2 separate regions of the Homo sapiens genome follow, and region 1 is linked to region 2. Evidence: promoter capture Hi-C in 16 types of primary human blood cells and fetal thymus (Javierre and others, 2016). All regions are on one chromosome and are shown on one strand. Each heading gives the region's core, a stretch centred on a gene start or on the middle of the fragment in contact. The rest is flanking DNA. Distances are from core to core; before and after follow the strand shown.

Region 1 (4,771 bases), core at 1,500-3,999, 550 kb before region 2:
GGCACTGGAGTCACTCCGATCACAAGATCTACCAGGACAACAACCCTGCTAGAACGGGGCTCTTCATGCTGTTTGCATGTTAGAAATATTCAGACCTTATGCAGAACAGGGCCCAAGAAGCAGTATTGTTTAGAAGCTTCTTAGGTGATTCTAATGTGCAGCCAAGATTCAGAACCACATGCTGAAGTAGCTGAGACACTATGGAAGGAATAGAAAGCCATTAATCTATAGTCCCCAAACTTGTCTACACATTGGAATCATACGGGAATCACCTGGAAAGCTTCAATGGCTACTGATGCTTGTGTCCTAGACCCAGGTATTGTGATCTAATTGATGTGGTATTGTGTCCTGGGCTTTGGAATTTTTATAAGGTCCCACATGATTCTAATGTGCAGATAAGTTTGGGAACCACTGAGTTACTCCATTGAATGCCAGTAAGACGTAATAAATATGTTCATCTAATTTTAGTTCAATAAATGCAGAGTTTGTTTTAAGGAGAGGTGTAAAAACACTAAATACACTCACTTTTAAATTATGAATATAACTGTAAAATTGTATTTAATATATTTTACAATATATGTACTTAAACTTCATGTTTTTAGCTTTACGAGTAGGGGGAGATGAAAAGAAGAAAAAAAGGAGGAAAGAAAGTCAGCAGAGGAGAAGAAGGACAGATGACAGCAGGAGAAAGAACTAGAAACAGAAACTATACACAGAAACATAGAAGCAAGGGCTGGGCAATAATTTTCAAATTGGTGCCCCCTTTTAAGGACATTAAATGAGGGGTAGCTACAGTAAAGTGTGCAAATACTAGGCATACACCTCAATAAATTTTTGCATATGTGCACATCCATATAACCACCACCCAGATCAAGATACAGAACACATTCTAGCCCTCATAAGGCTTCCCAGTGCCCCTCTCAGTCAGTTACCACTGTCTTAACTTCTACCACCATGTATGAGTTCTGCCTGTTTTTGAACTGCAATGTATGAACTCACATAGTATGCCTCCTTTATGTCTAACTTCTTTCACTTTACACTATGTAAGATGAACTCAAACTGTGTGTATCAGTAGTTCATCTTTTTCCATCACTGCAAAGTATTTCATTATATGGATATACTATATTTTTATCCATTCAACTGTTGATGGACATTCGGGTTATTTCCAGTTTGGGGCTACTGGAAATATAGCTGCCAGAAACATTCATATGCATTTCATTTTGTTGAAATAAGCTCTCATTTCTTTGGGGGTATCTATCCAGGAGTAAACTGCTCAATGCCCATTTTGATCAACTGATAGTCATCTTTGGTTATATCTCTGGGCTTACTCAGGATTAAAAAATTCCATGATTGATTAATGACATCTGATATGAACTTGGGAGAAGAGCATGATGGCACATGTGCTTTTAAATCTTCCTTAGAGAAGAAACATAGAGGGAAGTAAATGGGGAAGCGAAAGGAAGAGAAGAAGGAGACGCTTGTCACGTGGCTGCTTATTTAAGCTGCAGACCTCAAAGTATGGTCTGCCACTTTAAAAATGCTTAATTTAGCTGTGTGTGTGGGTGTGTGTGGGTGTGTGGTGTGTGTGTGTGTGTGTGTGTGTGTGAATCTCCCTACATATATAAGCTAGGTTGCATGAACAGAAGCAGTGGTCTGGAAAGAGGAACAGTAGAAATGACCTTGTTTGGTTCATGGAGACACCAATGTAGGGGCCCCAGTGAAGACCTGAAAATGTAGGTGGCAATGGGTATATATATCATCTGCTATGAATCTAAGAGACTCCAGGGAGAAAAGAAGACAAGAAATAGGATTTAAGAGACCTCCCTGGACCACTAGGAAAAGCTAAAAGTAGAGCCTATTGAGTGTCAAACTCTACTCCATTTCACTAGACCAGGGAGTACCACCGTGCAGACCTTGCAAGGACCCTTGACCTGCCATAACCTCCACAGTGTTCTCTTCCTAGTTACACACAGTGGGGATTCCCTCCAGTAATTAGCATTATGCCTTTAGAAAGAAAAGGGCCTGTATGCTGGCTTTGGGCACAGCAAGGAAGCAAGCTGGACAGACTCCTCTGCAGCTAGGCTTGCAGTGAAAGGAATCCAAGAAATGGCTTAGGTGGTGGCCATTGTGGGCAGAGAGGAACACTGACTAAGGTCTGGGGCCACTGGACCCTTGAGAAACCTCCCAGAGTGGAGAAAGAGGCTCAGGAATTACACATGGCAGAAAATTCTGTTGTTTCCTAACAGAGCCCCTGATTTCTTCCTGCCAGAAAATGTTCCAACCACAGCAGCATACGACAGAAACTGGTGAGGTAGAAGCAGCAAGCAGCATTTATCTGGGATCAGATTTTATTCTAACATTGTTGATACGAAAGTCATTCTTCCCATAGAGCCAAAGAACCAGGCTTGCTTCTGTCAGCTTGTTTTCTCTAAGGCCTTACTTACACAGTGAGGTAGTTGAGAAACAAAAACTTTTACTACGTTTCATTTGACAAGTGTTTGAGAAGGGGGTAAAGCATATTTTAACACAAATTGAAGACATTTCATCTTGTGTACACAGTACACTAGCATGCTAACCTGTGCAACTGTGCCAAACATTTTGTCTTCTAAAATGGCTTGCAGAATAAAAAACTGGCATTGTTTGCTGCTTGAGAGACAGATAAAGCTTGACTGAAAGTTCAATTTGAGCATTTGGGGAGCTTGCCTTTCTTTGTTACAACATCCATCAGAGCCCAGGTAGCCACAACGTTTTGTTCTCTTTCCACCACACCAGCATTTTCCAATGCATGTTCCAGAGAGTACGAGGCCTACAGGGGCTTCAGTAAATAAAGCTTCCCAGAAGTCTGGAGAATGTTCATGTTCTCTCTGCCTCCTGGGCTCAAAAGTCCATTAGCTAGTGAATGCCTCAAAGTCTGGCAGTGGAGAAACCCAACATTTCTCTGTAGCTTATATTTAAATATTTCCAAAAGTCCCTATGAGTATATCCTTTAAAGAAAGCAGTAAGATTTAGGTGGTAAGGAAGAGATCTGACACTCCCTCGGGATCATTTCAATATTATTTTCTATTTTAAGAGTACTAAAAGTTTCTTAAATATCACTTATAAAATGAAGTAAAAAAAGATGTTTAAGATTCTACTAATTAGATATCACTTTTATTTTTATTTATTTCCTTCCAAGTCTTTTTTGAATGCGTCGTATTGCCCAAAGAAATCAAAGAATTAGAAAAAAATCTACTCTAAAATTCATACAGACCAAAAAAGAGCCCAAATAGCCAAGGCAATCCTAAGCAAAAAGGATAAAGCCAGAGGCATCACATAACCTAACTTTAAACCACAAAGCTATGATAACTAAAACAGCATGGTACTGGTACAGAAATAGATACATAGATCAATGGAACAGAATAGAGACCCTGAAATAAAGCCATACACTTACAGCCAACTGATCTTTGACAAAGCTGACAAAAATAAACAATGGGAAAAGGACTTCCTATTTAATAAATGGTGGTTGGAAAACTGGCTAACCATATGTAGAAGTATGAAACTACACCCCTACCTCTCACAATATACAAAAATTAACTCAAGGTAGAATAAACACATAACTGTAAGACCCTCAAACTATAAAAGTCATAAAAGAAACCTAGGAAATACCCTTCCAGACATTGGCCTCAGGAAAGAATTTATGACTAAGTCCTCAAAAGCAAATGCAGTTAAAACAAAAAGTGACAATTGGGACCTAATTAAACTAAAGAGCTTCTGCACAGCAAAAAAAACCAGTGACAGAGTAAACACACAAAAAGTGGGTCAAAGACATAAATAGACACTTCTCAAGAGAAGACATACAAGTGGCCAATACACTTTTGAAAAAATGCTCATCATCACTGGTCATCAGAGAGATGAATGTTAAAACCACAATGAGATACCATCTTATACCAGTCAGAATGGCTATTAAGAAGTCAGAAAATAACAGATGCTGGCAAGATTGTGCATACAAGAGAATGCTTACACACTGTTGGTGGGAATGCAAATTTATTCAGCCCTGTGAAAAGAAGGTTAGAGATTTCTCAAAGAACTAAAAATAGAATTGCCATTTGACCCAGCAATCCCATTACTAGGTATATACCCAAAGGAAAACAAATTATTCCACCAAAAAGACACCTGCACTTGTATATTTATCACAGCACTATTCATAATAGCAAAGACATAGAATCAACCCAGGTGTCCATCAATGATGAATTGTATAAAGAAAATGTGGTACATATGCACCATGGAATACTATGCAGCCATAAAAAAGAATGAAATCATGTCCTTTGCAGCAACATGAATGCAGCTGGAGGCCACTACCCTAAGCGAATTAACACAGGAACAGAAAACCAAATACTGCATATTCTTATAAGTGGAAGCTAAACGTTGGGTACACATGAACACAAAGACGGGAACAATAAACACTAGGGATTCCAAAAGAGGGGAGGTGGGGAGGAGGTCAAAGGTTGAAAAACTACCTGTCAGGTTCTATGTTCACTACTTGGGTGACAGGATCATTAGAAGCCCAAACCTCAGCATCATGCAATATACCCATGAAACAAATATGCACATGTGCCCCATGAGTCTAAAAATAAATTAAATTTTTAAATTTTTTTTTTTTTGAGACGGAGTCTCGCTCTGTCACCCAGGCTGGAGTGCAGTGATCACATGAAGATCATAACCGATCTTCATGAGCTAGGTTGCATGGATAGAAGTGCTGGTCCAGAAAGAGGAACAGTAGAAGTGACCTTGC
Region 2 (4,232 bases), core at 743-3,242:
TCCACTTGGATTTCTAAAAGCAAACAAACTATTCCCAAACATAGGCATTTGTGCTGTCACACAATTGGACAAGCAAGATAATCTTTTTATGTGTAAATCTGTGCACAGGGCTCTTCAGTAGGTAGGCCAGGATCACAGGGAGACAGAGCTGCACAGGGAACAAACTCATTGAGCATGGGCTCTATGCCAAGCACTGTGCTGGGGCCTGGGTACCAGGATGAATGGGTGCCAAGAAAACTGCGAAGAAACTGGGCCCAGAGAGGGTAAGTGGTCCTGAGGATGGCCAATGTGTTATATACATTAAGTACTATGTGCCAGGCACTATTCTAGGCACTGGGGCACAGCAGTGATCTAAACAGATAAAAACCCCTGTCCTTATGGAATTAATGCTTAAGAGTGGGGGTGGAACAAATAAATATACAAAATATAGAGAATGCCAGATGGTGATACATACAAAAGAAAAAAATAAGGCAGGGGAAGGTAATAGAGCATTCTAGAGAGGATATCTTAAATGATGCTCAGAGATGACCTCAGAAAATGACATTTGCATTTTTTTTATTTTTTAGTTTTTGAGATAGGGTCTCACTCTGTCACCCAGGCTGGAGTACAGTTGCACGACCACAGCTCACTGCAGCCTTGACCTCTCCGGCTCAAGCCATCCTCCCACCTCAGTCTCCCTAGAAGCTGGGACAGGTGTGCCCCACCAAACCTGGTTAATTTTTATTTTTTTAAATTTTTTTGTAGAGACAGGGTCTTGCCGTGTTGCTGGGGCTGGTCTAGAATTCCTGGGCTCAACTGATCCTCCTGACTCAGCCTCCCAAAGTGCCGGGATTCCAGGCGTGAGCCACGTGTCCGGCCCCTAGAAAATGACAGAGAGTGGTGGGGATGTCTGGGAGAACAGCATTGCAGACAGGGCCCTGAGGCAAGGCCCTGAGTTAGGAGCAAGGAGCACAGCCTGGCAGACTGGGGGGCAGGTGAGGAAAGGGCAGGAGGAGTTGGGGTCAGAGAGGGAGTTGGGGCCATTCTAGGGGTGGCCTTGTAGGCATTGTAAGGATCTGGGTTTTCACTGGTGGTGAGGTGGGGACGCCATGGACAGCATGAGAAATGGTCTGGTCCGGCGTGGAGAATGCACTCCACCGGGAGGGCGTCAGGGGGAGCCTGGCTAGGAAGCTGGTGGGAGGCTGGGAATCCAGGTCCCGGACTCAGCTCTTCTTTTGCATTGACTTGGCCCTTGGCCCGCCCCAAACTTGAGGTTTGAACTGTTGAGGTCAGAACCTACCATGAACTCCAGCCTGGAGGAAAGATTTCTAGGAAGGCCTTGAAGTTCAGTTATAACCTGAGTGATGGTCTCATTAGCATTATAAAAGTTCCAGGATGGGGTTCTGCAGCACTGGGCCCGGGCAGTGGTCCAGATGCTGACGAGTGGTGTAGCGTCGGGCAAGTCTTCTCACCTACTGAGCAGACTCAGTTACTTCATCTGTAAAATGGGACTAAACGTCCCGGTTGCCTCAGCATCAAATGAGATCGTTCGAAAGCACCTTTTAAACATCATTACCGATTACAAAAAGCAAATGGGAAGTCGGAGCCGACCTCAGAGGGCTGACTTGGCACAGCACTTCAAATTTCTCGTTTTACAAAGCACGAGGCGCGAGTTTGTCTCGCTGTCAGGACCTGCTTCCCTCTCACCTAGCACCCGCCCCGGGCCCGAGAGCCGCGGTGCGGCCGTGCGTACAGGAGGGAGGGAGGCGGTGTGGGGTCCCGGGCAGAGCTGCTGAGAGCCCCGGCCCCGCATCTGACTCGCGCTCTCTCGGCGGGACTCCGGGCCAGGGCCCCCAGGCCGGCGCGCAGGGCGGGGAGCGGCTGCGGGCGGGAGGACGGGCGGGGCGGCGGGCGGCTACGCGGCCTGGGCGGAGCCGCCCCCGCCCTGGCCCTCGCGGTTGCCCTGCCCCCGCCAGCCCCAGGCTCCCCGGGCCCGCGCCGCGCCGCTCTTTCTCCGACAGCCGCCGGGGGTGCCCTGCAAGCTGTTCCGCGCGTCCTGCCCGTCTGTCCCCGCGGGTCGTCGCCCGCCACAGCCGCGCCATGACCACCCAGCAGATAGACCTCCAGGGCCCGGGGCCGTGGGGCTTCCGCCTCGTGGGCGGCAAGGACTTCGAGCAGCCTCTCGCCATTTCCCGGGTAAGAGCAGCTGGGACGTGCGTGGAAGCGGGGCGCTATGGGAGGTGATATGCGGAGACTGGGGCCCCGCGGGCGCGGTCGGGGACGGAGTCGGAACCGCAGCCGGGCGCGTCCAGGTGCGCTGTTAGTTGAGCGCTCTCCGCGCGCCCGGGCCCCGCCGCTCCCCGCCGCCCCTTCGCGGAGGCTGCGCTCCCGGGCTGGTCGGCCCGCCGCGGGCGCGCTCCGTGTCCGCCAGAAAAAAAGAAGGCAGTTTTCGTTCTTTGGCCCCGGAAGCGCGGCGGGGCGGGTGTTAGTTCTTTGTCAACCAGCGAGGGGACGAGGGTCCCCGCAGATCCCGCGCGCTGGGAGATGGCACTTCTCCCTTCTTCCCAGATCGCAGTGCAGCCGAACGCAACAGGAAAGACCTGGAAAGTGAGGTGGGGTGGGTGGGAAGTTTACTGGGGTGGGGGGCAAGTGGGATTAACCTAAAAAAACAACCGAAACACGCTCTTTGGACTTGACCCACGGCCGAGGCTCGCCCCTCGAATGGCTTTTGGAGAATGTGCTGGATTCGGGAAATAAACACAACAAACAAACTCAAGTAAACCCTCTTGGTCATTCTCCCCTCTGCAGAACGTGGCCCCGCCGTCATTCTTCCTAGCATTCCCAGATTATCTCTTTCCCCTCCCCGCACCAGCCCTTTTTTCTCAGGGCATGAGTAGATACTGCGATGGGGTGTCCACCTGGGGTGGGGTTGAGGTGCTTGAAATCTAAGAGGGGCTTCGGATCTTTAGAAGGACTCACGTTGAATCAGGGGCCACCAGAACCATTGCCCCCCTAATAAAGTGAAACCCCCAGGGAGACCCAGACTCAGTGTTCAGAGGTCTGGGCTTTGGCCATTTAATCTGGCCAAACACAGGTTGATGTCCCACTAAGAGATGTCACGTTCAGTGCTTGGGCACCAAGAAGAGACTCAGTAAGTACCTCGAATGAGGAAAGGGAGAAAAAGAAGTCCCCTTTCTCCCCACCCATGGCCACTCCTTGCCTGTAGGCGGCACATTCCATTCTTGGGCTCATCTGCCTGCTGAAGCTGCCCTTCAGCTTGTCTCCCAGACTTTCTAAACATCCTTCTTTTTCACTTGGGGTTGGGGGAAGGGTGGAGAAGAAAGGGAAATATCCTTATGGATCCTTTTGACTCAAGCTCCTGCGTCCAGCAGCTGAAGGAGTTTGGTGGGAGGTGCAGGAGAAGAATTGGTGGCCTCCTCTTGACTTGTCTGCCAGCCACAGTCCTACCCATGCTTCTTTCCCGGTTGGCCTGGCCCAGTGAGGAGGTCTTCTCTATCTCACCCCCCTAAAAGAGTAGGCGGGCCAGTTTTTGGGCCTTATCTTCCACCTGTTTGCCTCGTCCCACAGAGACCTCTGATTATTCTCAAAGGTACACACTGCCTTTCCAGCCACCAGCCTAATTCCTCAAGCGCAGGAACTGTGCCTTCCCCAGAATCGTCCCCGAGCCTGGTAGCAGACCTGTACCTGGCCGGGCTGGGTAAATCCTTGCAGGCTTATTAATAAATGCTTGTCCAGGGAGGACATTGTGTCTGCACATTTCAACTCGCTTACCTCATAGTCCATTTGTCCCTGTTCTTTGTGTCTATAATTAACCTGTCAGCCCTCTCCACTTCTGAGATTTATATATGACATGAAACCCTTTTTTAAGTAGTGGAGGATGTATTGGCAATCTGTTAAAAGGGCAGTTACTGCCTTTCACTTTAGCTGCTTTTAAAAGTCTTAATGCATGAGTGAATGATGGAATGGGGTGGAAAACACCACACTGTGAATTCATTGGTTTTTACCTTCATATATTCACTCATTTATTATTTATATTATTTATTTATGGCGTGTGCACGTGTTTAATGAGCACGTATCATATTCCAGAAACTGTGCAAACGCCTCAGAAATGAGAGGGCACAGCTCCATTCTCAAGGTGTTCATGGTCTAGTGATGGAAACTAATCTTTATAATGCCCTTGGCAGGTGCTTTAATTGAAAAGTGGAAGTGACTCAGAAGAGGTAACATTTTCA

The links. The method cuts DNA at HindIII sites, captures the fragments that hold promoters and counts their contacts. A CHiCAGO score of 5 or more calls a contact.
Region 1: a contact is called between a fragment that was not itself captured here and the fragment with the promoter of PDLIM1 in region 2, in 1 of 17 cell types (total B cells). The highest score is 5.4, in total B cells.

The regions. Positions count from the first base shown.
Region 1 is chr10:95,834,792-95,839,562 of GRCh38, reverse strand. All of the region lies in intron 2 of ENTPD1 (ectonucleoside triphosphate diphosphohydrolase 1), which reads right to left. All of the region lies in intron 4 of ENTPD1-AS1 (ENTPD1 antisense RNA 1), which reads left to right. Among named protein-coding and RNA genes, the nearest start is that of CC2D2B, 71 kb to the left of the region's middle. The HindIII fragment of the contact is 166 bases long and covers 2,667-2,832 here.
Region 2 is chr10:95,288,763-95,292,994 of GRCh38, reverse strand. PDLIM1 (PDZ and LIM domain 1) reads left to right here and starts at 1,992. Exons shown (of 7, transcript NM_020992.4): 1 at 1,992-2,175. The coding sequence starts at 2,080. RefSeq lists silencers at 1,635-1,714, 1,765-2,154, 2,205-2,304, 2,325-2,434 and an enhancer at 3,156-3,475. The HindIII fragment of the contact is 5,873 bases long and covers 1-4,232 here.